Linked DNA regions of Homo sapiens: regions 2 and 3 are each linked to region 1. The links are contacts of gene promoters, found by promoter capture Hi-C in blood cells and fetal thymus (Javierre and others, 2016). All regions are on one chromosome and are shown on one strand. The core of a region is centred on a gene start or on the middle of the fragment in contact, and the rest is flanking DNA. Distances in the headings are between cores, read along the strand shown. Region 1 holds the start of WDR35 (WD repeat domain 35). Region 2 has its middle 12 kb from the start of RDH14. Region 3 overlaps LOC105373454 (a long non-coding RNA gene).

Region 1 (3,872 bases), core at 603-3,102:
GGAAAATCGTCAATAAGTATTTATTATTCATACCGCATTCAAAGTTGTAAGGTAATGCTATTCAAAGTGCGGTCTGAGGACCAGCAACTCAGCTTCACTAGAAATGGAAATTCTCAGGCCCCATCCCGGGTCTATTGTGTGGGGGTAGAGCATGAAATCCATCTTAACAACCTCTTCCAGTGATTCTTATACCTAATACAGTTTGAGAAGCTATGTTGTAAGGAATCCAAAAATGTAATGCAGTTTAACCCCCTACATTTTCATTTTATGGAAGACTAAACTAAAGTAGTAAGATCCTCAGCTAACTTGTTGAAAGTCATTCAGTAGTCTTGTGGAAGAGCTGAGATTTAACTCCAATTACCTTATCTAGGTCTTCAATCTAGGGGGGCTAAGAAGTGGGAAGCTGTTTGCTGTGATTCCAGAGAACTAGATAAAGAAAGAAATCAAGCAGCAAAGACAAGAGACCTACTAATAGAAATGTAAAACGTATCCCATTTTCTGTTCTTGGACACTAGGTGAATAACCATTAATGCATCTGATAAGCAGAAAGGATGACACAGACCTGTAAACAATCTGCCAGATTTTCTTAGTGAAATGTTGACTCACAGGATTTCTTTTAGACTCCTAATAATATAGTACAATAATTAGACATAGCATAACACAGTGACTTATTTTCATTCTTCATTATTTTTCATTTTCCATTAATAACTCAGCAAAAACCATCCGATGTTTACATTCAACATTCTCTGAACTTTATTGCAAATATACTCCAGAAAAACACCATAAAATGTTTTGGTAGTTTTCCCTTTAAAATAATCAGAACTGCATATTGACAGATAACATGAGTAGACCGCACTGAACAAATAACATTAGCCAATTTACTACCAAACATGTGGGCTTGCATTCATTTACCTGTCTGCGTCTCTAATTTCAAAACTTTCAGTAATCCATCTTCACCACCGCATGCTATGAACCCTTGTTCCTTGTTCCAGGATACACACTGCAGCTTCACGTTATTGGGAATGGAAATCTGAAAAAGCAACCACAGCCGCACTAGCAACTTTTCACGAAGGAGCTGGGAAGTAAGTCTGCAGGAGATGAAAGCTGAAGAAAATCTTCCAAGAAGAAAAACGAACGGCCTTGCAGAAAAAAAATGAGCTGTTGTGAAAATGGGCATGGTCCCCTGAACTGACCCGGGCTCTAGCATTTGGGAAAGAGGGAAAGAAGTGCACAAAAGAGAAGGATAGTGACTGCGGAGGAAGCCAACGCCAGAGTCTCACCGGATGGATTTTTTAAAGGGAGGACGGGGAGAGGGTATAAATCCATACCACCAGTCCCTCTTCCTTTTTACCTACAACTTAGGCTATCCTATTGTTATTTCTTTTCTCTTGCCCAATGGCTCGTGGTGATCCAAAGAGTTTAAATCACGTGGATCAGCAACAAGTGGAGGAGGAAACATAGGGTAGCACGTGGCGACTTATCCTCAAGCCACCCAAAAGGACCTAGCCAGGGGCAGGAATGGGAGAGTGCTGCGAGAGGGCAGCAAGCTCGGCCAAAGACTGAGGCTCTGGGAACCGCAGGAAGAGGTCGGAGGCTGGACCCGGCGGGAAGGATGGCTGCGGAATGGCGAAGCCACGACCAGGACCGGGTGAAGGAGCCTGGCTTCTCGGGAAGGCAGCGGGAATCGCCGCAGGCTGCGGGAATGGCGGAGAAACGAGGACGCCCCCCAGGAAACTCACTTTCTTGCTCAGGTAGAAGAACATCGTGGGATCCCCGAGAGGGTCACGGCGGCCGCTAAGGCCCTCGACAAGTAACGGTTCTACGTCTCCAATCGGGAGTACCAGCAGCTCCGGAAAGCTCCCGTCGCCCTGGCAACCGCTGTTGCCCGGTCGCATCCGGGGCGCCGCGGGACACTTCCGGTGACGCCCTCGCACCGGGCACCGGCGTAGTGCGCCTGCGCGGACGTCGATGGGTTTGTGGGCGCAGGGCGCGAGGCGCGAGGCGGTAGCTGGGCTAGTCCTGTTCCCTGGCGTCTGGGCCTTTCTGCTCTCCGCAAGGAGCTGGGTCGCGACCTGTCACTGCCAGCCGTGCGCTCGCCCTCTGCGCCCCGTCTCGTGGTCACTGCCGCCCTCCCTCCCGCCACACCTGTGATGATCGCTATGGAGCCGCGCCTCAGGTGGCATTACTATAAACCTAAGAGGAGAGGCGCCCGTTCGAATAAGGGCAAATTATTTAGTATTTTGTAAGTTCCAAAGTTCCAACATTCTTGAAAGGGAAAAGCCATTTACTGTATTTGATAGGCTGGCGCCACTGGCCAGATGAAAGTGCAAATGTGCGTACTGAGATCTTACAACCCTTCTCTGTGTCTTTGGGGATTGGAGAACCTCTAGAGCAATTTAGGAATAGAAGATTTTGTTTATTCCGCTTGTTTTGATATTTTTTAACAGTTTAATTATTACCGCAACCCCGAGGGTCCTTTTAAAGGAATTTCTGTAAACGTTGGGTAATTACAGCGTACAATTGCTATTGGGGCATGGCCTCCCATTTTACAAATATTTGAGCGTTTGGTGTTTTCTCGTCTAGAGTCGACTGTTACATATTCTCTTCTTTTTCTTACCTTCTTTCTTCATTCTCCTTTGTCCTTTTGGAATGCTTGAGAGTTACAAAGCCTCAAAGTCTAAGGCATAGGGCAGAAATCCAAGTAGAACCACTCATGAAATTATTTGGTCTCACCTATGTTTTTATTTCTGGTTTTCCCTTTTACCATAATCTAGCATGTAATTTATGCATCAGTAGTTAATTTCCCCACTTGGAGTCTTTTCCCATCTCAGACAAAAATAAAATAAAAATCCTCCAATCCTTTGACCTGGGTGATTTGTCTCACCCAGCACAATCTATTATAGAATTGACAATAGTCCCTAGTGCCTTTCCTAGCAAATCTAAACTCCATCCAAAATCAGATCTTCCCTCAATCCTAAATGTTTTTACTAGGGAGCCCCCACCTCAAGTAAGCCAATATGCTTTCTGCAGGGCAACATTCCATCCGGCTCTGCTTCCCAAGCCACTTTATATATGGTCCTACCCTCTTAACAGGCCAGTTGTGCCTAGCCAAACCAGCACAAATCAGTCTCCATGAGGAATTCTTTCCAAACTTAACCCAATCCCATTCAGATAATGTTTGCTTTCCATTGTTTGTGTGTCTGTTTAAGATACATTGGCCCCTGTCCATAGGCTCCCTATACTGGACGCATGAGACAAATTAGTATTATCTAACCCAGGAGTTTCCAATAAACTGGTCAAGACATAATTAGTTGAAGCTAGTTACTGATGGTGACACCTGAAAACTCACCTCTCTTTATCTTTCCCTTCTTGCACATGAACTCTCATTTATTCCTTCTATACCACCATTTCTCTGTGGTATATTAATATGTATTACTGATTTTGGGCTCAAAAAAGTCTGGAAAATACTACTGTAGCTCTATGTCATACCCTTTCAAAATTTTTGAAAAGTAAGAGATGCTTTATATATTTCCTTGGTATATTTAGTTTTTGTTCCTTCCTTAAAGTTTATATTTTATATTTACATCTGTAGGATATATTTGCTTCTCAGGAGCTTATATTAATGTAAAGCTCATCATTATTTTATCCAAATTTAGATAATTTTATATTGAAGCCTTTCTTTTGAACCTGAACTTACACTTTTAGCCTCAGGAGTGTGAGATTAAACTATAGGAGGAGAATCAAACTTCTGTCTTTTGATAAGAAACTGTTGAATATCAAAATAACTGTTAATTCAGTATAATTTAAAGAAATATCTTTAATAGACAAAATTGATGAGTCATCAAAAATAGACATGATAATATGTAAAGGTA
Region 2 (4,240 bases), core at 261-2,760, 1.4 Mb before region 1:
TGCCATATGTAGGCTGAAGAAAAAGCCAGACAAACCTCCACCGAGAAAAGAGCACACACATGTGACTTTTTACATCCCACATTTACTTTAATGAAATATGGACGCCCTAATCTGCTGTTTCTTTCCTTTCTACTATGCTACAATACTTTTCTTAATTAAGAATAATCATTTTTTTTGGTAGCTTCAGTTATTTCTTTCAAAATATCCAAATACAGTTATCTTCCTCTTTTCCAGTTCATAAAGAGAACATGCAAAATATGTGTTCAGTGAAGAATGAAAAATATATATCCAAGCCTTCTCCAAAAAGGCCTCAGTGACTTTTGCAACATCCTCAACTTCATTTATCTATAGGATGGCTTTTGATAGCTTTATGTAAGCTTTTTAAAGTTCAGCCAAGCCAGCTGCATGATCAACACAAAGACAATAGCTCCCACACACAGGGTTACATGGATTAAAGAACCCGATCCATCAGTAAACCTGCCAGATGGCAGTGGAAGAAAGCTTGTAACTCTCTCACTTTCATTTCAACAGCAGCAAACAATGTTCAATGTTTAAAATAAACTCTTCCAGATGAGCTAAAGATAAACTCTGAGGTGGGTGGACTTGATCTTGTTAGGCTGCAGCTCTGAAGTGTTTGATTACATTAACACAAAACCCCTGGGTAGAACCCACTTCTGTCAACAGAATGCCTAGACTCAAACACCTACTACACAAAGCCATTTCCTGTGCTTTCATGGGTTGGTGGCAGAAACTCGCTCTGCTTTTTTCACAAACTAATAATAATTATATATTTTTCTGTGCTCAACATTTCCTCAAACCATGTGGATAACTTCAAGATGTAACTAAAATGCCAACATATATGTATGCCTGCACAGATAAAATGTTTTGAATCTGTTTACAACTTAAAATTCTACTATTTATTCACCTTACTACTCTCATAGTAGCAAAAATGGGGGCTATTAGGAAGATTTAGAACCAATTTCATTCTGTCAAAAGCTGGAGAACTATCTACATCTGTGGGTTATACCAAAAAGAAAAAAGAGGAAGGTACAAGTGCTTAAGTTCAACATTATAAAGGAAGGTAGAAACTTTTTTGTTTTTAATAGACTCTAAAACCCCCAACTTAGGACAAACCAGCCTGGAATAGTTCATATGTAACATGGCAACTTCCAAATATAAAATGACATACGAAAAATAACTTTATTATAAACATTCAGAAACATATTTATCACAATTAATAGGAGATTTTAAAATGAGAGAGAGAGAAACAAATCTGATGATGAAACTAAATTTTAAGAACTGGCTACAAAAACACTTTAGGACCAAATATATCAAGTTATCAATTCAATATACTGGTGCATTTTAAAAAATAAAACTATTCCCAAATTTAGATTAGAACTCCTTGGAAAAACATGCTTCACGACACAGAACACATTTATTTCTATCCCTCCAAACGAAAACTCTTCTGATATGAAGTGATACCTCTGCTGTACAATAGAAGCATTCTTATTTTGAATTGGTTGGTTACATTTAAAAAGTTGATTAAAGCAGAAAATAAAAAAGATGAATTATATGTACCACAAAATGTTTGAACTTAAAACATATAACATGTTCATTTCTTTGTCTATCTTCTAATATAAGGCTACGGGTTCAACTGGTATCTTCGTTGTTTTCCTTTTTGAGCATGGACTCACTTGGAATTTCATTTTCTTACATTGTTCAAGAATACCTTGTTTTATCATGCTTCACTTGACTGTGCTTTGCAGGTACTGCATTTTTTTTTTTTTTTTAACAAACTGAAGGTTTCTAGCATCCCTGCATGGAGCAAATCCATTGGTGACATTTTTTCAATGGTTTGTGCACACTTCATGTCTCTGTCATATTTTGGTAATGCTTAGCAATATTTCAAACTTTATGGCTGGGTGCAGTGGCTCACGCCTGTAATCCCAGCACTTTGGGAGGCTGAGGTGGGTGGATCATGAGGTCAGGAGATCAAGACCATCCTGGCTAACACGGTGAAACCCCGTCTCTACTAAAAATATAAAAAATTAGCCAGGCGTCGTGGTGGGCGCCTGTAGTTCCAGCTACTCGTGAGGCTGAGGCAGGAGAATGGCGTGAGCCCAGGAGGCAGAGCTTGCAGTGAGCTGAGATAGTGCCACTGCACTCCAGCCTGGGCGACAGAGCAAGACTCCGTCTCAAAAAAAAAATGTATTTCAAACTTTATTATTTTATCTGTAATAGTGATTTGTAATCAGTAATCTTTGATGTTATCCTAGTAATTGTTCTGGGGCACTAGAAGCCCCACCCATATAAGATGGCAAATGTAATTGATAAATGTTGTGTGTGTTCTGACTGCTCCGGTCATTCCCACATCTCTTTCCCTCTCCTTGGGCCTCCCCATTGCCTGAGACACAACAATATTGAAATTAAGTCAATTAATAATCCTACAATGGCTACTAAGCATTCAAGTGAAAGAAAGAGTCTCACATCTCTCAATTTAAATCAAAAACTAGGAACTATTAAGCTTAGTGAGGAAGGCATGTTGAAAGCCAAGAAAGGCCAAAAGCGAGGCCTCTCCTGCCAAACAGTTGGCCAAGTTATGAACACAAAGAAAAGTTCTTGAAAGAAATTAAACATGCAATTCCAGGAAACACATGAATGATAAGCAAGTGAAACAGCCTCATATTGCTGATATGGAGAAAGTTTTAGTGGGCTGTCTAAAGTGATCTTCTAAGATCAAACCAGCCACAACATTCCCTAAAGCCAAAACCTAATTCAGAGCAAGGCCCTAACTCAACTCTATCTGGGTTGAGAGAGGTGAGAAAGCTGCAGAAGAAAAGTTTGAAGCTAGCAGAGGTTGGTTCATGAGGTTTAGGGAAAGAAGCCATCTCTGCAACATTAAAGTGCAAGGTGAAGCAGCAAGTGCTAATGCAGAAGCTACAGCAAGTTATCCAGAAGAGCTAGCTAAGAACATTGATGAAGGTGGCCACACTAAGTGATATGGTTTGACTGTGCCCCACTCAAATCTCATCTTGAATTGTAGCTTCCACAATTCCCATGTGTTGTGGGAGGGACCCGTGGGAGGTAATTGAATCATGTGGATGGGTCTTTCCTGTGCTGTTCTCATGGTAGTGAATAAGTCTCAAGAGATCTGGTGGGTTTATAAGGGGAAACCTCTTTTGCTTGTCTCTCATTTTCTCTCTTCCCTGCAGCCATGTAAGATATGCCTTTCACCTTCTGCTATGATTGTTAGGCCTCCCCAGCCACGTGGAACTGTGAGTCCATTAAACTTCTTTTTCTTTATAAATTGCCCAGCCTTGGGTACGTCTTTATCAGCAGCATGAAAATGGACTAATACACTAAGCAACGGATTTTTAATGCAGACAAAATAGCTTTCCATTGGAAGAAGATGCGATCTGAGGCTTTTATAGCTAGAGAGAAGTCAATGCATGGAAACAAAGCTTCAAAGGACAGTCTGACTCTCTTGTTTGGGGCTAATGCAGCTGGTGACTTTAAGTTGAAGTCAATGCACATTTACCATACTAAAAATTCTAGGGCCTGTAAGAATTATGTTTAATCTACTCTGCCTATGTGCTATAAGGGGAACAACAAGGTCTGGATGACAGCACATCTGTTTACAGCATGGTTTACTGAAATTTTAAGTCCACTGTTAAGACCTATTGCTTAGAAAAGATGCCTTTCAAAATATTACTGCTCATTGACAATGCACATAGTCACCCAAGAACTCTGATGGAGATGTATAAAACGATTAATGTTTTCATGTCTGCTGATACATCTAGTCTGCAGCCCATGGATTAAGGAGTAATTTTGACTTTAAAGTCTTATTATTTAAGAAATAACATTTCCTAGGGCTAAAGCTGCCACAGTTATTCCTCCGATGGATCTGGGCAAAATAAATTGACAATCTTCTGCGAAAGTATTAACCATTCTAGATGCCATTAAGAACATTCATAATTCAAAGGAGAAGGTCAAAATATCAACATTAACAGAAATTTGAAAAAATCTGAGTCCAACCCTCATGGATGACTTTGAGGGTTCAAACCTTCTTTGGAGGAAGTAAACACAGATGAGGTAAAAATCACAAGATAATTGGAAGTGGAGCCTAAAGATGTGAGTGAACTGCTGCAATCTCATGATAAAACTTAAAGACATAAGGAATTGTTTCTTAGGGATGAACAAAGAAAGTGGGTTTCTGGAGATGGACTCTACTCCTGGTGAA
Region 3 (3,823 bases), core at 862-3,361, 1.5 Mb before region 1:
TGGGAAGTGTTTTTATCATTCTATTTTTTTAACCTCTAGTAAATATGCACTCTGTTTCTGTTATTTTAGCAATTACCATAGAAATTAAGGCATAAACTCTAAACTCATAAAAGTCTGAAATTAATCAACATTTTTACCCTTTCTGCACAGTGTAATAATTTTAGATTGCATTGGCTCTAGTTACCCGCTTTCTAACTTACATGTTTAGTTTTGTCTTGTATGCCCATAGACATTATCTTAATGTTTATATAGGCAGTACTTGCTATGGACTGAATGTTTGTGTCCCTCCCAAAATTAATATGTTGAAATCGAAAGCCCAATGTGACAGTGTTAGAAGGAGGTATTAGAAGTTCTTGGGAGGTGATTAGCTCATGAAACCTCTGCCTTCGTGAATGGGATTACTGCCCTTACAAAAAGATACCCCAGAGAGCTAGCTAGCCCCTTCTGCTATGTAAGGATACAGCAGGAAAGCACCAAGTATGAAATACAGAGTGAGCCCTCCCCAGACACCAAATTTGGTGCTGCCTTGATTTTGCACTTCCCACCCTCTAGAACTGTGAGAAATGAATTTCTATTGTTTACAAGCCACCTACTTTATGGTAATTTGTGACAGCAATCTGAATAGAGTCAGATGTTGTTAGATATTCACATATTCCCACTTTCTCTGTTTTTATTCCATCCTATGGCTCAGACCTTCAATCTGGCATCAGTTTTCTTCTGCCTGAAATTTTTTTTTTCAGAATTTCTTTTAGTGAGAGTCAGCTGCTAAGAAATATATAGTTTAATTTACCTGAAAATGTTTTAGTTTTGCCCCCATTCCTGAGAGATGTGTTTTCTGGATAGAGAATTTGAGGACAGCAGTACCCCTCACAGCACCCATCACACACAAACACACAAAATAAAGATATCATTCCATTTCTTTGGATTCAATTGCTGCAGTTCAAAAGTCAGCTGTTCGTCTATCATTGCCTTAAAGACAACGCTTCCCTTCAGTGCCCTGCCATTACCACCACCAACACCACCAAGCTTCAGCTTTTTATCTCTGGGGTGTTCACCAGTTTTCCTATAATGTGTTTAACTTGGCTTTTCTTTAATTTTTTTCTGTTTCTGATTCATTGAATTCCTTGGGTCTCTAAATTAATGTCTTTTGCCATTTCTGGAAATTTCTAAACTGTTATATCTTCAGATATTTCTTTTTAAACATGTTATCTATGCCCTCCTTCTGGGAGTCTGAAAATATGCTAAGACCATTTCACTTAATGTTTTATGTCTCATAACTTCTCTATCACATTATAGGTCTCTTTGTTTATGTTATAATCTGGATGATTTATTCTGAATCTGTTTTACAATTTACCAATTATTTTTTAGCTGTCTCTAATCTATGGTTAAAACTGATCATTGAGTTTTTAATTTTAATCGTCTCTTTATTTGAAAAATTTCTAATTTTTGTCAAATCTGCTGTCATTTTTTGTGGATTTCCACTCCACAGATTTTTAAAGCTTTCCTTTTAATGTATTTAAACACAATATAGTTAATTATTTATTAAACTGTGTCTGACAATTCTAGTATCTTAGGTCTTTGCAAAACTTTGCCTGTTGCCTTTGTTTGTTTGTTTGCTGCTTCTTACTTATGGTTTATTGTCTCCTTGTTCTTTTTGGACTGTGAGCTGCTGCGTTTATTTGGAAAATTATTTCTGGGCCTTCTTCAAGGATAGAATGATAGTGCATTCCTCCAGAGAGTACTGATATTTGCCTCTGCAATTTGAATCTGCGCAGTTTGAAGATTTATTTTTTATTTTTTTATTTTTGTTTCCCCAAGACGGAGTCTTGCTCTGTCGCCCATGCTAGAGTGCAGTGGAATGATCTCAGCTCACTGCAACCTCTGCCTCTCGGGTTCAAGCAATTCTCCTGCCTCCGCCTCCCAAGTAGCTGGGATTACAGACACCTGCCACCATGCCTTCCTATTTTTTTGTATTTTTAGTAGAGATGGAGTTTCACCATGTTGGCCAGGCTGGTCTCGAACTCCTGACCTCCTGATCCACCCGCCTCGGCCTCCCAAAGTGCTGGGATTACAGGCATGAGCCACCGTGCCTGGTCTGAAGATTATTTTTAACAATTATTGTGAATTTGGACTCTCAGTATGTGTTAGGGATAATTTGTGGTGACAACTTCTCAGAGACTATTTTCTCAGTACCAAGGCAGATTTCTATGTGGCCCCTGCAGGAAAGGAGAGACACAGGTTTATTGTGGTGTATTAGGCAAAACAGATTTATTTTTGGTTGGATCCCAGCTTTACAGGCATATGTTGTTTAGCGGATTCTCCTCCTGGGAAAGCGTGGCCTTTGGTGTGTGGCTTCCACACTCTGTATTTTAATCTGATTTGCCCAATACTCTCAGGAAAATGTGGCCATGAGTGTCCCCTTACATCTCTGGTTTCCTGCCTTTACATAGATTTTGACCAGATAATTTCTTACTATATTATAAGCTCTTCTGTGTTTATTATATAAAAATATATTTTGGATAGCATTTCAGATATTTTCAGAAGGAGAACTTACTCAAAAAACCTAACCAGCCACACTACTTAAGCTGAAATTGTCTTCTTTCTTGACATCTTAGCTATGTTAGAGTAAGCTCAATATTGTGGCTCCAGTGACACGTGGGGTCTTGGAGGAAAGGATGGCTGTTTTACATAGATTTCAGGATTTCTAACAATCAGTATCAGAAAGAAGCTTATGTCATTCATTTGTGAGATAAGTTTTACTATTTATTATTATTATTATTTTTAGAGAGAGCCTCACTCTGTTGCCAGGCTGGAGTGCAGTGGTGTGATCTCAGCTCACTACAACCTCCGCCTCCTGGGTTCAAGCGATTCTCCTGCCTCAGCCTCCCGAGCAGCTGGGACTACAGGCGCACACCACCACGCCCAGCTAATTTTTGTATTTTTAGTAGAGACAGGGTTTCACCATGTTGGCCAGGATGGTCTCCATCTTTTGACCTCGTGATTGGCCCACCTTGGCCTCCCAAAGTGATGGGATTACATGCTTTATAATTTTTATGATAATAAAAACTACAAATTTATTTGTGAATTTATAAAATTAAATGAATGAGAAAATTATTAAACACCCAATCATTATTTTACTAGTGTTGTTTTGGTATTTTATAGACACATGTTTGAATATGTATGTGGGTTATATAAATACATATACACACATATGTGTATATAAATACACACATATATATACACAAATATGTTTATGATATTAGATTATATTAACTATGTGCCCTGCATCTATTTTTCTCCTGATATATACACATGATGCACTATTAATTGACTGTGACCATCAGTTGACCAATAATGCATTTTGTTAACTATAGTCACCATGCTGTACAATAGATCTGTAAACTTATTCTTCCTGTCTAACTGAAACTTGTACCCTCTGACCAATATCTCTGTTTTCCCAACCCACCCCTCCCCAGATTCTGCTAACCACCTTTCTACTCTCTACGTCTGTGAATTTGATTTTTTTTTTTTTTAGATTTCACATATAAGTGAGGTCATGTGGTATTTGTCTTTCTGTGTCTGATTGTTGTTCTATTTCAGATATTCAGAGGGCTCTTGATACATTCTGGCCTGTTAAAATGGATTCCACAACTAAATGACAATTATTTGTTATATGGGAATAATAATAAATGCCTCCTTCACACACAGATGTGAGGCTATAAAAATTAAATGCGACGAGCTAGATCAAATCCCAGGATCTGGTTCTTGCTAGGTACCAAAACCTGTGTCCCCATAGTATTGCTATTACTCCAATTTCTGTGAA

Evidence for each region. The method cuts DNA at HindIII sites, captures the fragments that hold promoters and counts their contacts. A CHiCAGO score of 5 or more calls a contact.
Region 2: a fragment that was not itself captured here is called in contact with the fragment with the promoter of WDR35 in region 1 in 1 of 17 cell types (naive CD8 T cells); the score reaches 5.4 in naive CD8 T cells.
Region 3: a fragment that was not itself captured here is called in contact with the fragment with the promoter of WDR35 in region 1 in 1 of 17 cell types (total CD4 T cells); the score reaches 6.0 in total CD4 T cells.

Annotation. Positions count from the first base shown.
Region 1 is chr2:19,988,253-19,992,124 of GRCh38, forward strand. It overlaps WDR35 (WD repeat domain 35), which reads right to left and starts at 1,853. Exons shown (of 27, transcript NM_020779.4): 1 at 1,740-1,853; 2 at 913-1,030. The coding sequence starts at 1,763. It overlaps WDR35-DT (WDR35 divergent transcript), which reads left to right and starts at 1,952. Exons shown (of 3, transcript NR_110235.1): 1 at 1,952-2,242. MATN3 (matrilin 3) reads right to left here. Exons shown (of 8, transcript NM_002381.5): 8 at 3,800-3,872. RefSeq lists enhancers at 1,584-1,633, 1,650-2,153, 1,784-1,833 and a silencer at 1,994-2,073. The HindIII fragment of the contact is 12,234 bases long and covers 1-3,872 here.
Region 2 is chr2:18,546,205-18,550,444 of GRCh38, forward strand. No RefSeq gene overlaps it. Among named protein-coding and RNA genes, the nearest start is that of RDH14, 12 kb to the right of the region's middle. RefSeq lists an enhancer at 420-940. The HindIII fragment of the contact is 2,023 bases long and covers 500-2,522 here.
Region 3 is chr2:18,510,022-18,513,844 of GRCh38, forward strand. The region is part of intron 6 of LOC105373454 (a long non-coding RNA gene); the gene reads left to right. Among named protein-coding and RNA genes, the nearest start is that of RDH14, 49 kb to the right of the region's middle. The HindIII fragment of the contact is 1,229 bases long and covers 1,498-2,726 here.